Regions from separate parts of the Homo sapiens genome. Here region 2 is linked to region 1. Evidence: promoter capture Hi-C in 16 types of primary human blood cells and fetal thymus (Javierre and others, 2016). All regions are on one chromosome and are shown on one strand. The core of a region is centred on a gene start or on the middle of the fragment in contact, and the rest is flanking DNA. Distances in the headings are between cores, read along the strand shown.

Region 1 (4,006 bases), core at 317-2,816:
ATTGCCCTTGCAGGCTGGTTCCCCCATGTCCATGCTGATATGGAGAACACTGGATCAGGTGTATTCACTGGGTTCCCAGCGCTATAAAATTCCTACCCCAGGGACGTGCTCATGGGAAACACTCAATAAGTCATCCTTAGCTGAATCAAGCAGAATCAGAAAAAGAATTCCAAGAAAGATATATTGAGCATCTACTTACTATATGCTAGACACTGTGTAGGACCCTTTTCACGCTCTTGTTTAATTATGACAGCCCTGAAAGGTGATCATCATTGTGCTCACCTTACAGATGATGAAACAGACATTCAGAGCACTTTGTGACTTGCCTAAAGTTTCACTGTCAAGAAGGAACCAAGTCTCCTGACTTCAGGCCTTCCCACTATGAGATCACCAGTTTATCGTAACTAGAGGCCTCTCCCATCTAAAGCATCTTTGTAACTGCTTTCCCTTTCCCCACACTGCCTACACATAAAGAAGCCCCTAATTTGTAACAAGTCATTTGACAACTCCAGAAGAGGGGCCACATCCTTTTTCTCTATGTCTGTTGATTAACAAAGACAACATTATGTTTCCAACACCAGTCAGACCAAGGGGGAAAAAAGTCCCCATGACTTCAGTAATTTTCCATCCTTTGGAACAAGGAAATATACACAAAAGGTTTACTATAGAATGTAAGCATTGCTTTTAAATGATGCCAATCTCTCTTTTAATGTGGCCTAAATCCTAAAATTTAAAGTGTGATAAGCCGGGCGCAGCGTCTCACACCTGTAATGCCAGCACTTTGGGAGGCGGAGGCGGGTGGATCACCTGAGGTCGGGAGTTCAAGACCAACCTGACCAACATGGAGAAACCCCATCTCTATTGAAAATACAAAATTATCCGGGTGTTGTGGTGCATGCCTGCAAATCCCAGCTACTCGGGAGGCTGAGGCAGGAGAATCGCTTGAACCCAGGAGGCAGAGGTTGCGGTGAACCGAGATTGCGCCATTGCACTCCAGCCTGGGCAACAAAAGCAAAACTCCGTCTCAAAAATAAATAAATAAATAAATAATAAAATAAAGTGTGATAGTGTCCTTTCTTATATTTTAAGTAGACACACAAGCCTTAATATATATGTAAACCATAAATATCATGGCCAACTGTTCAAGATTGGGCTCTCACACTAACACACCTCTTCCTTGCAACTTGCACCCAATTTGACTCTGGTCCTAGGCATGCTGACCTGAAATAGTTGCTGGCTGCGGCAAGCACCACGCGGTGGCAGGAGAATTCCTGAATGTCCACACACAAGATGACATCTGTCAGAGCGTTTTCCATTCGCAGGGTTTCCAGGCCATTCTGAAGAATTAAGGAGAGTCCCGCGTCGTCAAATTTGACCTTTTCCCCATTTAAGATCTCGACCAAGTCTCCTGTTTTCTGGGAGGGCTCATCTGTAGAAGGTGCCAGGGGCCCTTCCAAACTCTTCTCGACCACATCACCCATGGTCCAGGCGCCCCTTTGTCCTGCCATCAACATCGAGACTGAAGGAGCGCCCAAGTGTCAGGCAGGCCCCATTGCAGGAGCTGAGCGGATTTCCTGTGCAGGGCCCTCCACTTATCACCAGCTGTCACACACACATAACAGGAAGTCTCGCACTTTCTCATCCTGTTACTACAAATGCCAGCAACTTCTATTCTTCTTCTTTCTGTGAGTAATCACAGGGTTAGAAATTACTTAGAATAGGTGTGTGGGAGGGGGTTCTGGAAGAGGAGTGTCCTCTCAGAGTCCACTGTGAGTGCTGTGTGTTTATTTTGGTGCATCTCCCACCTCATATCCGTGAGCAGGAAGCCTCCGGTGGTGGCTGTTACATTTGTACTCCTAATGCTATCAATAACCCAAGTCGTCAATGAGGGGATGGACAGGAGACAGTCTATAATCCTCCTGCTTCACATTTGTACTCCTAGTGGCTCAATAACCCAAGTCGTCAGCGAGGGGATGGACAGGAGACAGTCTATGATCCTCCCACTTCCTCCTCCCAGGAGTCTGAGACCCCACAATGATCCAACAACCGTGCTTTGTAAACCATGGAAACCCCACTTATCCCTGACATTCTCATTTCTGGCGGCACTGCAGATCGTCTATCTTCATCCTCCTCCCTACCCAGGGGAAAACAACGTCATGGCAAACTTTCATGTCTTCCCCCACCAAAAAAAATGTCTATTGTTTCGAATATGCTTTGGGGGCACAGAAGAAATGGTTTCCAAAACTCCATCAACAGCATCTTCTCAGAGGATGAGTCAGGGTGGGTCTACACCGAATTGCCATAGCACGTCTCAGATTAGCCCAACATCTACTGACCGTGCATCTAACGGTGGATCCTGAAGTATTTTCATTACCTCTGCATGTCTCAGTTAAGTAGTAATAACTGTCATTATTAAAATCCCATGATATCCTGGGGAAGTTATAGGAGCGTATCAGTTAGCGTTCTCTCACGCCCAACAGTAATGCTTTACCAGGTTGCTAGGTATTTCTTAGCCCAGCAAACTTGACATCTAAAATTAACCATTACAATTACAGTCATACCCAGCATAATGATATTTCAGTCGATGATGGACTCCAGAGAGACAGAACCAAAAGGATACCTAGAGAGGCATAGCAGAGGGAAATTATTAGGGGAATTGGCTCACGTGATTATGGAGACTGAGAAGTCGCATGACAGACTGCTGAGAGCTCAGTTCAAGTCCAAAGGCCTCAGAACCAGAGAAGATGGTATAACTCTCAGTCCAAAGCCAAAGGCCTGAGAATCCAGGGGGTGGGGAGACTGGTGTAAGTCCTGAAGTCCAAAGGCAGGGGATCCTGGAGTCCTGTTGTTCAAGGCAGGAGATGACTGTATCCCAGCCTCAGGAGATAGAGACATCGACCTTTCTTCTGTTTTTGTTTTCTCTGGGCCCCTGGCTGATTGGATGGTGCCCACCCACACTGAGAGTGTATCTTCTCTACCGAGTCCACTCAGACTCACTAATCTCTCCTGGAAACAACCTCACAGACACGCCCCATGGTAATGCTTTAACAGGTTGCTAGGTATTTCTTAGCCCAGTAAACTTGACATCTAAAATTAACGGTCACAAGTACAGTCATGCCCAGCACAATGACATTTCAATCGATGATGGACTGAATATACAATTGTGGTCCCAAAAGATTATAATGGAGCATATAAAGAAACCTGACGGCCGGGCGTGGTGGCTCATGCCTGTAATCCCAGCACTTTGGGAGACCAAGGCAGGGGGATCACAAGGTCAGGAGCTCAAGACCAGCCTGAGCAACATGGTGAAACCCCCATCTCTACTAAAAATACAAAAATTAGCCAGTCGCGGTGGCGTACACCTGTAATCCCAGCTACTTGGGAGGCTGAGGAAGGAGAATCGCTTGAACCCGGGAGGTGGAGGTTGCAGTGAGCTGAGATTGTGCCATTGCACTCCAGCCTGGGCAATAAGAGCGAAACTCTGCCTCAAAAAAAAAAAAAAAGTCATGGAAAAATAATGCCATTCACAATGGTAATAAAACATATGTAAATGCCTAGCAATAACAGCAACCAGCAACATAAAGAAAACTAACAAACTTTACTAAGAGTTTCGAAAGAAAACTTAAATAAATATACCAAGTTCCTTTATGGAAAGACTAAATATTATTAAAAGGACCAATTCTTTCCGAATACATTTATAGGTTTATTTTACTCTAATAAAAATTACAAGAAAATTTGGAGTTTAGGTTTGTTTGTTTGTTTGTTTTTGAGACGGAGTCTTACTCTGTTGCCCAGGCTAGAGTACAGTGGTGCGATCTCAGCTCACTGCGACCTCCGCTTCCCAGGTTCAAGCGATTCTCCTGCCTCAGCCTCCCAAGTAGCTGGGACTACACGCATGCACCACCACACCTGGCTAATTTTTTGTATCTTTAGTGGAGACAGGGTTTTGCCATGTTGGCCAGGCTGGTCTTGAACTGCTGGGCTCAAGCGATCCACCCGTCTCGGC
Region 2 (3,663 bases), core at 446-2,945, 110 kb after region 1:
TAACCTATTTCCTTTAAGGCCATTAGCTCCCTGCCTGAGATAAGTATTTCTCCAAGCTCAAGAAATAATGCTTTTATTGGGTTAACAGTCCGTGATGAGAACATCAGATATATCTAATTAAGCTAAAAACCATTTGGTTGCAAATAGGATATTTAATACAGGCAAAACTACTAGCTTGCTAATCCTTTCAGATAGACACACATTCTAGCAGACATTGAAGTTACCCTTTATTTATTGGTACTAAATGTTTTAGCAATTAGCTTCTCATGCTGTTTTCTCTTTCTGTTCCAAAGTACAAAAACAGATAACATATGTTTATTGGGCTAAGAAGTCTTGAAAAAGGCAAGCGAGTTTAAGCAAAGGGAAAGTATAAACCAAGTAATGTACAATAAGGAAAGGATAAAACAAAATCCTATGATATATAATCATTACTCTGGATTTTATATTAAGACAGAAGTGATTTAACTTCAGTGACTAGCAGTGTTTGTTTTGATTGATTAATAAATAAGACTTTGAGGAATATCACCTTTTTTGAGGATTTGTCTTAGATTTTAAGTGTGTTTTAGGAAATACTTATATGGAAAGAATGATAGATAAGTCAGTAGTTATACTACTAAAGTATCTGGTGCTGTGCTCTCTTTATTTTTAATACTTTTATTTTGGAATTACTTGGAAAATAGTAAATATTACTGATAATATTTAGGTCCTTCTGTTAATGTTTTACTAAATACTAGGTAAAGGTTATATAATTTCCTGGATTCCTAAAAGTACTTTTGTTTGCATGTATAGAGAAAATTCTTTTCTCCCATATTTATTTCTGATTTTATAACGGAAAAAGTATGCCTGGCATAGAATAGGTACGTGATTTGGTTAGTTGACATAGGTCTGAGTAAATGTAGCTAGAACAGCTCTGTTAAAAGAGACACGCCAATATTGCTTGTTTTTTCCTACTGTAATTGTGTAACAGCACACTGACTAAAATTACAAATCAGTGTCCTGATGTGGGTTTTTTTTTCCCCTCTATAAGTAAGAGAAGAAGGATTGTTGGCATTTTTCTTTGTGAGACTTAACTTGTAGCAACCATAAAATGTAACTATAAAACATTTTCATTTAGATTATATTTGTGAAAAATATAAAAGCTAAAGAATTTTAAAATTCCTAAACTATCAATTGAATTTTATGAACAAAAAATTGTGGATAAGCTTTTGGTTATTCCTGTCTCTATTTTAAATCTAAAAAATGAGAGAAGCCAGTGATTAACAGAAACATTAGAATTCTTTTAGTGGTGTTAAATGCTGTTTTTTGCATTCTAAAAATAGCTCAGGCTCATTATTGGTTTGGAAATTTGTAATGATAGAAATGGGGGGAGCCAAACAATTCAGAGACAACTATCTTTAGCATTTTGGTATATTCTTTCCAGATACATTTTTTAGATAGTATTGAATATGCCTAATGTACAGTTTTTCATCTTGCTTTTCTCCTTTAACATTCTTGTTATAAACTGTTAGCCTTTTTAGTGATTGCCCAACATTTTGAGTTGTATTACCTTAATTTACTTGACTTTGTATTTTAAAAACTAATTTCTGAACAAGTACATATACATATTCCTTTAAAGGGTGCTTGGATTATACTATGAATTAGTTTTTTAGAACTAGCAAGCTGATGAAAGAGCACCATTTTCCTACAGTTAGAAAAAAATGCATTATCTTACCTTGTGTGGTTATGCGTATCTGAATCACTGCAAAACTGCATTTGAAAGTCATCCTTAATATTGCCAGGATTCTGATTGGGTTAGATAGGATCTTTGGACTTTTTTACAATTTTCAGGTCAAAACCAATAGAAAAAAATAGCAACAGAAATTTTCTGTGGAATAATGATGTCACTAGCTCCCCTATAAACGTTCTCAAAGTAAGTAATTTCCAGGCTGTACCGTTTGGCACATGCACAGAGAAGAAACTTAACTGTTTATAATAGTGCGTGGTTTGTTTTTAGAGTTTTAAGAAAAAATCTGGAGTATATTTTAATGTAATATTATTATATTATTTATGTACGCTAATAATTATTATTTTAGGTCCACTGGCTATTCTGAGGTGATAGTTGTCGTTGGAGGATGTGAGCGAGTTGGAGGATTTAATCTTCCATACACTGAGTGCTACGATCCTGTAACAGGAGAATGGAAGTCTTTGGCTAAGCTTCCAGAATTTACCAAATCAGAGTATGCAGTCTGTGCTCTAAGGAATGACATTCTTGTTTCAGGTAAATATAGAATTATTACAGTAGCTACTTTTAATTTGGACACAGCTTCATTATTTTAAACATCAACAGTGTCTTAAAATAGTGAAATGTGAATACTCCCACTTGAGGAAGATCAGTTTACAACAAATAAAACCAAGAATGACTTTTTGCTCTTAAAAACAGGTACAAGGCCAGGCGCGGTGGCTCACGCCTGTAATCCCAGCACTTTGGGAGGCCGAGGCAAGCAGATCACCGGGTCAGGAGATCGAGACCATCCTGGCCAACATGGTGAAACCCCATCTCTACTAAAAAATACAAAAATTAGCCAGGTGTGGTAGTGGGCAACTGTAGTCCCAGCTACTCAGGAGGCTGAGGCAGGAGAATCACTTGAACTCGGGAGGCGGAGATTGCAGTAAGCCGAGATCGCGCCACTGCACTCCAGCCTGGTGACAAAGCAAGACTCCGCCTCAAAAACAAAAAACAAACAAAAAGCAACAACAAAAAAAACACAGGTACAAGATGACATGGAATGATTTACAAAAGATCCACCAGAAGATACCTTTAATCATGTCATATTTTAAATGCTCTCAAATGCATGTAGAATATGCTGTAATTTTTTAAACTTTACCTCTTTGCAAGTCAGAAGTACTCATAGAATTAAGCATTTCTAATTCACCCATGTTTTCTGAAATTCTCCGCAAAGTTTATGAAATAAGATTTGCTTTAAAATTCTTAACTTGAACTTCTTTATGATTGTGATATGTTACCTTTAAAATTAGAAAATAAAATGACAGACTTGTACAAAGTATAACTATAGTATCTATGATGGGAAGTCTGTTAATTGGTAAAATAATTTCACCAGCTTTGCAGATTATTATATATATTATCCACACTGAGAAATATAACAATACATACTTTATTTTTTACAATAGTATGCTTTTTGAAAAATCGGTCAATTAAAAAAAAAACCTTTAGAATAATACCATTATTTGCGTGCTTCTGATGTCTTACTCTTAAATTAACAATCTTTTATGTTTGTAAAATTCACATCCTATATTTAATTATTTTGGATCTATAATTATCACTTATCAAGATAACAATTGGTAAAGTTTAAATTTTCTCTGTAGAACTATTTCCATTAAATTTCAAGAGGTCTTTATTTATTGAGCTGAATTCTCAAATTCTTGAATTAGATGAATGAATTCCATGTTTTCTTTACCTATGCCTTGGTGGCACAGATCTCTTGGTGACAGCTATATCATGATAAATTATCGTGTGTGCATTGTTTTGCATTTCAAGGTGGAAGAATCAACAGCCGTGATGTCTGGATTTATAACTCACAGTTAAATATTTGGATCAGAGTTGCCTCTCTCAATAAAGGCAGATGGCGTCACAAAATGGCTGTCCTCCTTGGTAAAGTAAGAGAA

What was found. Contacts are between HindIII fragments. The CHiCAGO score rates a contact against its expected background, and 5 or more counts as called.
Region 2: a fragment that was not itself captured here is called in contact with the fragment with the promoter of KLHL6 in region 1 in 2 of 17 cell types (megakaryocytes and endothelial precursors); the score reaches 5.4 in megakaryocytes.

Annotation. Positions count from the first base shown.
Region 1 is chr3:183,554,140-183,558,145 of GRCh38, forward strand. KLHL6 (kelch like family member 6) reads right to left here and starts at 1,567. Exons shown (of 7, transcript NM_130446.4): 1 at 1,222-1,567. The coding sequence starts at 1,514. The HindIII fragment of the contact is 8,561 bases long and covers 1-4,006 here.
Region 2 is chr3:183,661,386-183,665,048 of GRCh38, forward strand. It overlaps KLHL24 (kelch like family member 24), which reads left to right. Exons shown (of 8, transcript NM_017644.3): 4 at 2,073-2,257; 5 at 3,536-3,654. Among named protein-coding and RNA genes, the nearest start is that of KLHL24, 28 kb to the left of the region's middle. The HindIII fragment of the contact is 991 bases long and covers 1,201-2,191 here.